2 separate regions of the Homo sapiens genome follow, and region 1 is linked to region 2. Evidence: promoter capture Hi-C in human tissues and cell types (Jung and others, 2019). All regions are on one chromosome and are shown on one strand. The core of a region is centred on a gene start or on the middle of the fragment in contact, and the rest is flanking DNA. Distances in the headings are between cores, read along the strand shown. Region 1 overlaps LHFPL3 (LHFPL tetraspan subfamily member 3). Region 2 holds the start of LHFPL3 (LHFPL tetraspan subfamily member 3).

Region 1 (5,054 bases), core at 1,412-3,911, 490 kb after region 2:
ACTTAGCATATTGTTGGGTCATGTAAATAGCTGGTAACCTCAAAAAGAAAGCCAGGGAAGTGATGGTCATAAAAGTGTTATGGGATCTTTGGGGTACCATTTTTCTGGTCGGAAAACTCTGTGGCTAGTGGCACCTTTGCCTGAGTTTTGCTTGTGCCCACTGGGCTTGTTTCACCCACTTGGCCTGGCAGGCTGTGCTGGGTTCATGCTACTAGCCTGGGTCCCATGCCTGCTAAGGGTGAGTCAGGCATGGAATGGCGAGAGGTGTGTGAGTGAGTGTAGGGTCCAGCCACTGTGCACAGTCAGACATGCTGGCTGCTGCAGCAGGGAGGGCAACTCCAGGTTCCAGCACAGGTGCCAGCTTTCTATGAGGCTGTGGCCAGACCAGCAGATGTCAGATGATCAGCTGCAAAGAGGAGAAACCCACAAGCAGCTTCCACAGCTGGCATCAGAGAACACGGTGGTGCCTGAAAGCTTGGAGATGCCAGGAATTGCAGGGCCTCAAAGAAGGAGTCATAGCCCTGACTTGGGGAGCTCCCAGGTTTGGGTTCCCCAAAGGACCACAGCTCTTCTTTCCTTCTCTTCACCCGCAACATAGGAAGCAAGAGGCATGTCTCAGCCCTGTTTGTGTTACAGCTCTTTTAGCCTCACCATTCAGTGGGTCCCAAGTTCTTGTCCTGCAACCAGAAAGAATGAGGTATGCAGACAAGTGGAGGGTGAGCAAGATGAAGAGGAGCTTTACTGAGCAATAGAACAGCTCAGAGGATGCCTGCAGGGAGCAGCTCCTTTCCACAGCCATGGTGTCCTGATAAGTGTTCGGCTCCTAGCAGAGGGTAGCTCCTCTCTGCTAGGCAAGTCATCCCAACAAGTGTTCAGCTATCAGCAGAGAGGGTAGCTCCTCTCTGCAGCTGGTTGTCCCATCATCTGCACAGCTCTCAGCAGTGGAGGAAGCCCTAGAGTGGGTGGCTCCTCTCTGCACCTGGTCGACTCATCATCTCCCTATCATCTCTCCATCGTCTCTGCAGCTCTGAGCAGAGAGGAGGCCCTGGAGTGGGTTGCTCCTCTTTGCAGCTGATCATCTGACATCTGCTCAGCTCTGGCTGATCCCAGAGCTTTTAAGGGCCTCAAAGGGGAAGAAGTGCATGCTGATTGGTCCCACCCAGAAAAGGCACTACAAGTTTCTACTCAGGTCCACGGAACTGGCAGCCTGACTCCCAGCCTTCAGGTCCTCCCTGGCCTGAAGGTGGGGCCTCACTGGGGACCTGCCCCGTTCCACCCAGGAACCTGTCTGCCTCCCTCTGCCTTTCATGACATCCAGGCTATAGGTGCCAAGCGGCACCTATAGGTCAGCACCAAGCTTCCCTCATCTCACCCTCAGCTTTCCTCCTATGCTCGTCAGTGCCCAAATTCCAGAGGGGGCAGATGCAGCAGGGTGCTGGCGTGTCAGCACTGCCCCAAGTGTGTGCACGCTCGACTGGGCTGCGGCAGTGGCCGGGCTGGGTCCTGACTTTACTCTGAGATCAGAGCAGGTGCCGACAGCAGGGAGAAACCAGGCGGCGGGAGCAGGCACTTTCAAGCCTGCAAGGGCAGGGGTGCCTTCCCAGACCCCCAGTAGTGCAGGGATGCCTGGGTCCATAGCTGCAGTTTGGGGCAGCTGCAGCTGCGCCTGGGCTCCCACCTGCTCTATGGAGCAGGAGGCCCAGGTCTGCAGCCATGGTTTGGGTGGCTGCAGCTATGCCCAGGAAAGTGGGACTCCCGCCTGCCCCCCAACCCCGAGAGCACGAGGATGCATGGGTCCATAGCCATGGCTTCCACAGCTACAGAGCCACCCAGGGAGCTCCCACCCCAACTTAGAAGGGGTGGGGCTCCCACTTGTCCCAGCTCTTGCTGGCTCCATGGAGCGAACAGCCCCCACCCCGCCTCCCTGCTGCAGCCGGCATGATGGCAGGGGCAGCTCCAGACGGCCTGCTGCTGCCATCAAGTCAGTGAATAGTGATTACCCCCAGCAGGAGAAGGGCATATGGCTGGGGAGGGACATGTGGGGTTTCCAGGATACTGGCAATGTCCTATTTCTTGAGCTGGCTGGCGGTTACACAGTGCTCACTTTATAATTCTGTGTTAAACTGTGCCTTTGTATTTTGTGCACTCTTCTGAATGTGTGTCTTATTTCAAAAATCAAATTCTTAAAAAGATAAGAAGACCACTTGAGCAGTGATATGGGGGAACCTAAATCTGTACATTTTAAGTTTTTCATTACAATGATTTACCCAAAGGGACAAAGAATTCTTCCAGTTCCACCTTTTTCTCCTCCGTTCAGAGGTTCTAACTAAATGCCACTTCTCTCTCAGATAGCCCTTTCTTTTAAGTCAGCCCAGATCTCCCCTGTGCCTACCACCACCCCACCCCACACAGTAGAGTCTCATGCCCTGGATTCTCTTCTGGATCTGGTCATCTCATGGCAGGCTGCACACATGGCTTATTGGGAGACACAGGAAAGTTGTGAACTGCCTCGTGTGAGTACTAGGGCAAAGAAGCTCAAAGGTAGGAATTCTCAAGGTCCCTCCCCCTTTCCCCTTTGAAGAATGAGGGATTCATGCATGGAACTGCTTTGCTCATTCAGAATGACAGACCAAACCCCTCCTTCCTGTAGCTGACCACCACATTCCATATAGACCAGCACCCCTTGGCACAATGAGAATTAGCCTCATTGTGTGCTTTCTGTCACCTATTCTAGGACACTCTGCAGCAGCCTTGACCTTCATTATGAGTTCAAGATGAAGATCCCATCCCAAAAGAACAACTTGAAGAACTGCGCCCTGTGAAAAAAATGCTGTCGTTGTTGTTGTTTTACAGCAACAGCATTTGCCAGTAGATTCCAAGCTTTTTCCATAATTAGGCCCACTTGGGGCAAAAAGAATCAATCTAGGTAAAAATCATATCTAAAAATCTCATACCTATTACAGAAACCTAGTTTCCTTTTAGCTTAGCAGGATTCCATCCTGCTACCCAGGATTTGAGGCTCTGCACTAAGCTTCAGGGATGCAAGAACCACTATGCTGGCTCCTGAGATTGCTTCATAAAAGGATGCATTTACCAAAGATAATCAGATAGTTTATACAAAGCATAAGTGTGAGCTCTACCTTGAACCCATTCTATTTTCTTGGATTCTAAATCCTCACCTTTGGTCTTAATTTTAGTCCTCTATGGTAACCATGGTTTCAGAATCCTTCTTTCAATTACTATCAGCAGTTGCATAAAGGAGATGTTGGCTTTAGTCTCTTAAGCCCCATCTGAAATTTCTGCAGTGGTTTGGGAGCAACTCACTTTTAAAGTGAACTTCAGATCCTGCTTTCAAAGGCACACAGTGGCTGTCAGAGCTGAGCAGTTTCATTTTCAGGCCACTCAACGTGGCAAAGAGCTCAGGTCTAAACAGCCTTTGCCCAGGTGTGGAACCATCTCACCTTGCCTGACTTAACTCCTCCCTGCTGGCCTCCTAGCCTCGGGCTGCTTTAACTCCATTGTATTTGTCAAGAAAATGCATTTTCCAAGCCTGCCTCATGAACCTTGTGTCTTCTGGGTTTCCATAATCCTCTGGGTTAAGCACACACTTCTGACTGTGACCACCTTAACTTCTGAACTGCTAGCTCTTCCAGTCATTCTGGGGCTCCCCTGCAAACCTTCTTTGCTTCTCCCCCTCTTTCCACCCAGGCAAATTCTTCAAGGCCCATCCCACACACCCTGGCCTTCCTAGCCCACAAGGATCTCTCCCTGCCTCTGCCTATCTACACACTTTATTGGAGTATTCCTTGGTATTGCTATTTATCTTTGCTCAGCGCGGGCTACGTTGCCAGTCTTCGTTATAATTTCCCTGAGGGCAAACCCTGTCCAGTATCCTGTGTGCCCATATTGTGCCTATCCAGTGCTGGGCAGTCAATATTTATGTGTTGAGCAAAGGCTCAACCTCAGATTTTTTTCAACCTCACCCCATTTCATTCAGCCCACAAGGGCCTCCTCCCTTTTTCTCCTCATCTAATTCAGCTTCTCAAACTGCTGCCTTGACCCAGCCCAGAAAACAGCAGGGTTTTCTTGTTCATTGGGAAGTTTTCTCATGTAAACACCACATCTTTAAACAACCTTCCCCTTCAATACAGTCTCTGGCATTCATCCTTTTGCAAGTCTCCTAAACGCTTATTTGATTGTGTTTAGGTCCATAGCATACTCTTTACTTTGTTCATCTCTCTCACACTGGTAGATAGCTGAGGACAAAAACAACATCTATGCTTCATCATAGAGCCCTGAGGCCCTCACATCCCTGGGAACTCAGGGGCCTTTCCTGATTTGACGATTGACAATTCTAGGTACAGGACCACAGAAGCCTCCTCCCTCAGACAGTACTACTTCACTGATTCTAATCCCATACAAACCCCCATGGCCACACCATGATACCCTCCTTCTCCACACAGTCCCTCCCTCATACCACATCATCAACTGTCTTTTGAAATCCTCCCATTGCTGACTGATCATAAAGTCTTTAGGCAAACACTATTCCGATACCTAGCACCAGGACTTCTGTTGGCTATTTAATTGTAGGTTAATTAAAATTAAGTACCATTCATTTCCAATGTAGTTGCACTAGCTACATTTCAAGTGCTCCATAGGTACACGTGACTAGTGTCTACCGTATTGGACAGCACAGATACAGAACATTTCCGTCACACAAAGGGCTCTTGGGCAGTGCTGACTTAGAGCAAGCAAGAGAAGTAAGAGGAATCGGAAGGATTTATTGAGCCAGCAAGGATCATCTAGTTTATTTCAAAGCTCTTAGGAATGAGTGTACTTAAATGCTTCAGAGAAATATGGTGGTTCATTTTCCTGTTCTATTTTATTTTCTATCAGTTTCAAGAAGTGTCTCTTTACCACCCTCTAGGTAACCTATTGAAATTGTCACAATCAACATGGGCAGGAAGTTGTCTCTAAAGTCTAATCTTGTTTGTGGAATTCTTTGCCCACCTAAGGCAACTGACTTTAAGGCAACTGGCTTGGGCACTTCTCTC
Region 2 (4,781 bases), core at 2,020-4,519:
CTTACCCAGGATCTTTTTGCAGTGTTACAAGGCCCCCATTCTTCTTTTGTTGCTTTCTCTTGTATAGTCCTAACATTCATTGAGACACAGTTTGCAAAAAGTGAGGGTGTGGGTCTCAACACTGACCCTTTGCAGCAGTCACAGAAAAACATCTTAACAGTGAAGTTTGAGATTTGTGTGTTCAGTGTTTCTAATTCAATGCTGTCGATGACACTGGCTTCTAGTTATTTAGCACATATGAATCATGTTATAGTATCAAAATACTTTTCTATCAATAGCAACTTCTTAGCATGAATCAGGCCAGTTTTATTATTTCCTCCTCCCCAAAGCAGCTTTCCTGGTCACATCAGATTTAATGAGGTGCAATAAGTTGCCCAGATGCTTAGCTGTCACAACTCCTAAAGTGTACAGGGTGCAAGCCAAAAGTTTTAGATTAAGGGTAGAAATTGTCTTACCTCTGGGATTCCTGGTTACTAAGGACAAAGTTGGGGGGTGGGTGACAAAGGGGTTTGGGAAAGGGTAGAAGAATATCTTGCGTTCATTTATAGCAAGCCAGGAGTTCACAGGTATTTTAGCTCATCCCTAGTTGCTAGAGTCTTTAAAGATTCTGCTTCATCCTGAAAATCTGCTGTAGTACAGGGAAGGGTAAAGGTAGAGAGAAGGGCCACTGACAGAGTCCAGTTCATCCCCAACTGACCCTAACTTCAAGAGGCAACAACTCAAATTCTCAGAGGGAATGGGAGCACTTTAGATCAGCAATACACCAACACTGGTCTGATCCTAGTTGCTGTTGACAAGAGTGGACACTTTGAGTGTGCCCCTTGGCATGGTGATTCTGAACATGAACCCAGAGGTGATTCCAAACCTGGAATGAGAATAAGGCTTTCCTTGGGCATGACTCAAGTAGAAAAGCTCTTTGAATCACATTTGAATCTGAGTCACCCACCAGTCTTTTCTTTGTCCCATAAAGGCAATTCAAGCATTGAGGTATAAACCAGGCTTTTTGATTCTCAGCCTTCCCTTCTCAGCCACCTCACATCTCAACCACCCCATGGAAACAGTAAGATTTCTTTCAGGCATTTATTTTAAAGAGAGACTACTTCATACAACCAGGTTTGGGGGATTTGAGGGCTTAAGAGAGTTACTAGAAATTACTGTCAGTTCTTGCTGTAAAGCTATCTCTGCCCCTGGGACGCATGGCCTGCCAAATGGCCTCATAAATCTGATTATTCTCCTTTCCTTTTTCTCTTTCCATGTTAAAATTCTTCTGATTTACCAGCAACTTCAGGAGAGTTAAAACAAATGAAACCTAACAGAAATTCTGACCCTCCACTGCCACCAATGCACTCAAGATGCATCATCATGAACTGTATTTTTAGAGACTTGCAAGTGTTATATTGGGCTAACTCATATTTTGGTCATCTTTGTCACCTCCTCCAAATCCCTCTGATATTTATTTTGAAGACCTTCTGAGAGTCTACAACCACACTTGCTAGAAATTCTTACTCACTTAATCTTACATGTCTCATGCTACTGTTTAATTCTGTTCTCTTGATTTTCAAAGCTCTGTCTGATGGACCTTGTATTACAATGGACCTTGTATAAGATGGACCTTGTCTGATGGACATGTATTACAATACATGAATTACATGCCTATAGAAAAAACTGAATGGAAGATTCTGAAAACTCATGCTTTTAGATGCTTTCCCCAGTTTCAGCAGCAGCCCCTTCATTATCTTATGTGTCTCACACCCCTATTCCACTTTCTCCCCCTCCCTCTTCATAGAATCTCAAATCTTCAGACTATCAAATGAAAAGCATAATTTTCATCACTTAGGTTATGACCCTTCTACCATAGAATAGCCGTTGATATAGCCAATTAGGTAAGACTTAGGGTCCAATTCTATCAGAATTCTCTCTGATAGAAATGCTCAGAAAATTCTGTGATCATATGGTTCAAAACGATTTGTTACCAAAATCCACTCCTACAATTAAGCATTCTGGTTTCATGGCTGGGGGTGGGAGGCAGTTACATGTTTCTTTATATCAGAATCAGAAGGAAACAAACAAAAAAACCAACGGAAATAGGGAAATGCAGTTTGAAAAGTAGAAACTGTTAAAAGAGCAACAGAAAGACTGTTAAAAGGGAAAACATAAGCTAAGGAAACAGCACGAAGGGCAGGTGTACAACAGCAATGCCATGTGAAAATGTAAGGAATTCTATAGTGGTAATTCCGGGATAAATTAGCCTGAAAACAGCTCTCTGGTTAGCTTTGGGTTGTAGGGGGAGATGGAAGTTCCTGGACAATTAACCATCTGCTATGTCTTTTTGTACCCTTACCACCCAGCTCAGCGTCTGGGCACAGAGTAGCTGTCAATATTTGTATAGTAAGTGTAACACTGGCCGAACTACCCTGTTTTCAAACAAACTATAAAATTCTGTGACACAGTCCCTTCCAAGCACACACAGGCCCAATCTATGGAAGGAATTATCGGGGAAACGACCTAAAGGAAAGTATGGGGCATCCATTGGCTACAGTTCAGCTGGCTGCTTGGGGGAAAAACGCAAAGAGGACGCAAGCTCAGCTGTGCTTGATGTGAGACCACCCTTGAGATTTGTCTTTTACATTATTGTCTGCCAGGCTCCTGCGCAACTTCTATCTCCACCTGTGGACCTGAAGGCAACCGAGGAGTTAGCCAGGGGCAGTTCTGTGGTAACAAGAAAGACTCTTGGGGGCTGTATGCCTCCACTGCCTTGGCGCCTCTTGCCTGCAATTGCCGCGCTGCCCCTCGTGCCTCTGCAAAGATGCAGAGGTCGAAGCACGTTTCTGTGCGGTGATGAAATGCTCGCTGAATCAGCCTCTCGAGCCCGGCCTCTCACACCCACCAGGATCCTGGGGTTGTCTCTAGGATCCCTGTGGGTGCTCCTGCCACCTTCTTAGACTACCCTCGCCCTCCTAATCCAGGCCCACTTCTCTGGCTCATGTCCACCCCTTGATGGGCGTTCCGGGGTCGTCACTGTCCTCTGCGCCCCTGGGCACTGGCAGCGCGGGCCGGGCAGCGGGGAGGGAGGCGGGAAGCAGAGCGGGAGGCGCCCCGGGCTTGCGCGCCGCGGTGCTCCACGAGGGATTTGCCGCCTTCAGCTGCAGCAGCTGCAGCGGCGGCGGCGGGAAGAGGGGTGGAGGGTGGTGAGGAGGGCCGGAGCCCGGGCCAGGAGGGAGGGAGGGGAGCCGGGAGGCTGTGCCAGGCGAGCCGGAGGGGTGCTCCGCGCTCCCCCGCCCTCCTTCCGGGAGCGAGGATGCAGACTCTGAAACTGGTGCTGCTGGGCTGAGGCGGAGGCAGGGGAGTTGCAGCGCGCGAGGCTCCGTGAGTGTGTCTCCTGCGCGCTGAGAGGCGGGGGGAGGCGGAGGACCAGGAGGAGGAGGAGGAGGAGGAGGAGGGGGAGAATGCCCGGAGCCGCCGCCGCTGCCGCCGCCGCCGCCGCCGCGATGCTCCCGGCTCAGGAGGCTGCCAAGCTGTACCACACCAACTATGTGCGGAACTCGCGGGCCATCGGCGTGCTGTGGGCCATCTTCACCATCTGCTTTGCCATCGTCAACGTGGTGTGCTTCATCCAGCCCTACTGGATAGGCGACGGCGTGGACACCCCGCAAGCCGGCTATTTCGGGCTCTTCCACTACTGCATCGGCAACGGCTTCTCCCGGGAGCTGACCTGCAGGGGCAGCTTCACGGACTTCTCCACGCTGCCCTCGGGCGCCTTCAAAGCCGCCTCCTTCTTTATCGGCCTCTCCATGATGCTCATCATTGCCTGCATCATTTGCTTTACCCTCTTCTTCTTCTGCAACACGGCCACTGTGTACAAGATATGTGCCTGGATGCAGCTCACCTCCGGTGAGTGCGCGCTCACCTCCGCGGAGGCGGAGGACCCCGGGGCGCCCGAGCCGGGGAGGGGCCAGAGTGGGAGGGACGGGGGCTGTGCGCGCCGCTGCGAGCCAAGCCGCCTAATCCGCTCAGGCGTCGAGGTGTGGGGGGCGGGAGCCCAGCGAGGCCGGAACCCCCGGGGTTCCCCAGCCCCGGCGCTGGCGCCTCGTCCCGGGGCTTTCGTGAGCCTCCCAAGTGTGGGGGACGCCCACTCAGAGGGACGCCCCGGAGGCAGGGCGGTTGTGGGGCCGAGTCCGCTCAGAACTAAGGATGGTGGGTGGAGAAGTGGCCGCTTAGAGAGATGGGGCCGGGGTTCCGTGCTGAGGGACTAAGGAGGGACTGACAGGGCGAAGTGAAAAGCGGATTTGGAGAGGTCATAGTGGAAGGAGCAGCCAGCCTGCCCTGCCCCTCGCTGCTGGGACTATTTCTGTCATTGATCCTGGGAAAGGGGGCGGGGGGCGGTGGCTGGAGTGATACTGTTTCTTTCCATCCCGGGCAGTTAAATATGTTTACTCCTCCATCCGGAGGTGAAGAGATCTTAATTCTGTTTTGGGTTTCCCCTTGTAAGAAGAATGTAGCTTAGAACATTCTTTCGCAATTCCTCAATGTCAAGTCTTCAGTTTGCCTCCTTGTCCGTGCAAAGTTCCTTCCATTTCATCTTTAAACAGAAGTCTTTAGTAAATCAAGATTCCTCAAGATCTCATTTTTGGGAAGTGGCTTTGGGGAAGTAGGCAGAGAGGAGAATGTTTCATTAGCATCTCCGATCACTCTTTCCCTGTGGATGATAAATTGTTGCTAGCTGGAGGATATGAAAGTACTTTTTTTCTGTGCATCAAAGTTACTTTTAACCCAGAAAGGAT

The links. Contacts are between HindIII fragments. The study calls those that stand out against the background at their distance.
Region 1: a contact is called between a fragment that was not itself captured here and the fragment with the promoter of LHFPL3 in region 2, in 1 of the 25 tissues and cell types used here (mesendoderm cells).

Annotation. Positions count from the first base shown.
Region 1 is chr7:104,813,331-104,818,384 of GRCh38, forward strand. The region is part of intron 2 of LHFPL3 (LHFPL tetraspan subfamily member 3); the gene reads left to right. Among named protein-coding and RNA genes, the nearest start is that of LHFPL3-AS1, 12 kb to the left of the region's middle. The HindIII fragment of the contact is 3,492 bases long and covers 916-4,407 here.
Region 2 is chr7:104,325,334-104,330,114 of GRCh38, forward strand. LHFPL3 (LHFPL tetraspan subfamily member 3) reads left to right here and starts at 3,270. Exons shown (of 3, transcript NM_199000.3): 1 at 3,270-3,891. The coding sequence starts at 3,447. The HindIII fragment of the contact is 20,464 bases long and covers 1-4,781 here.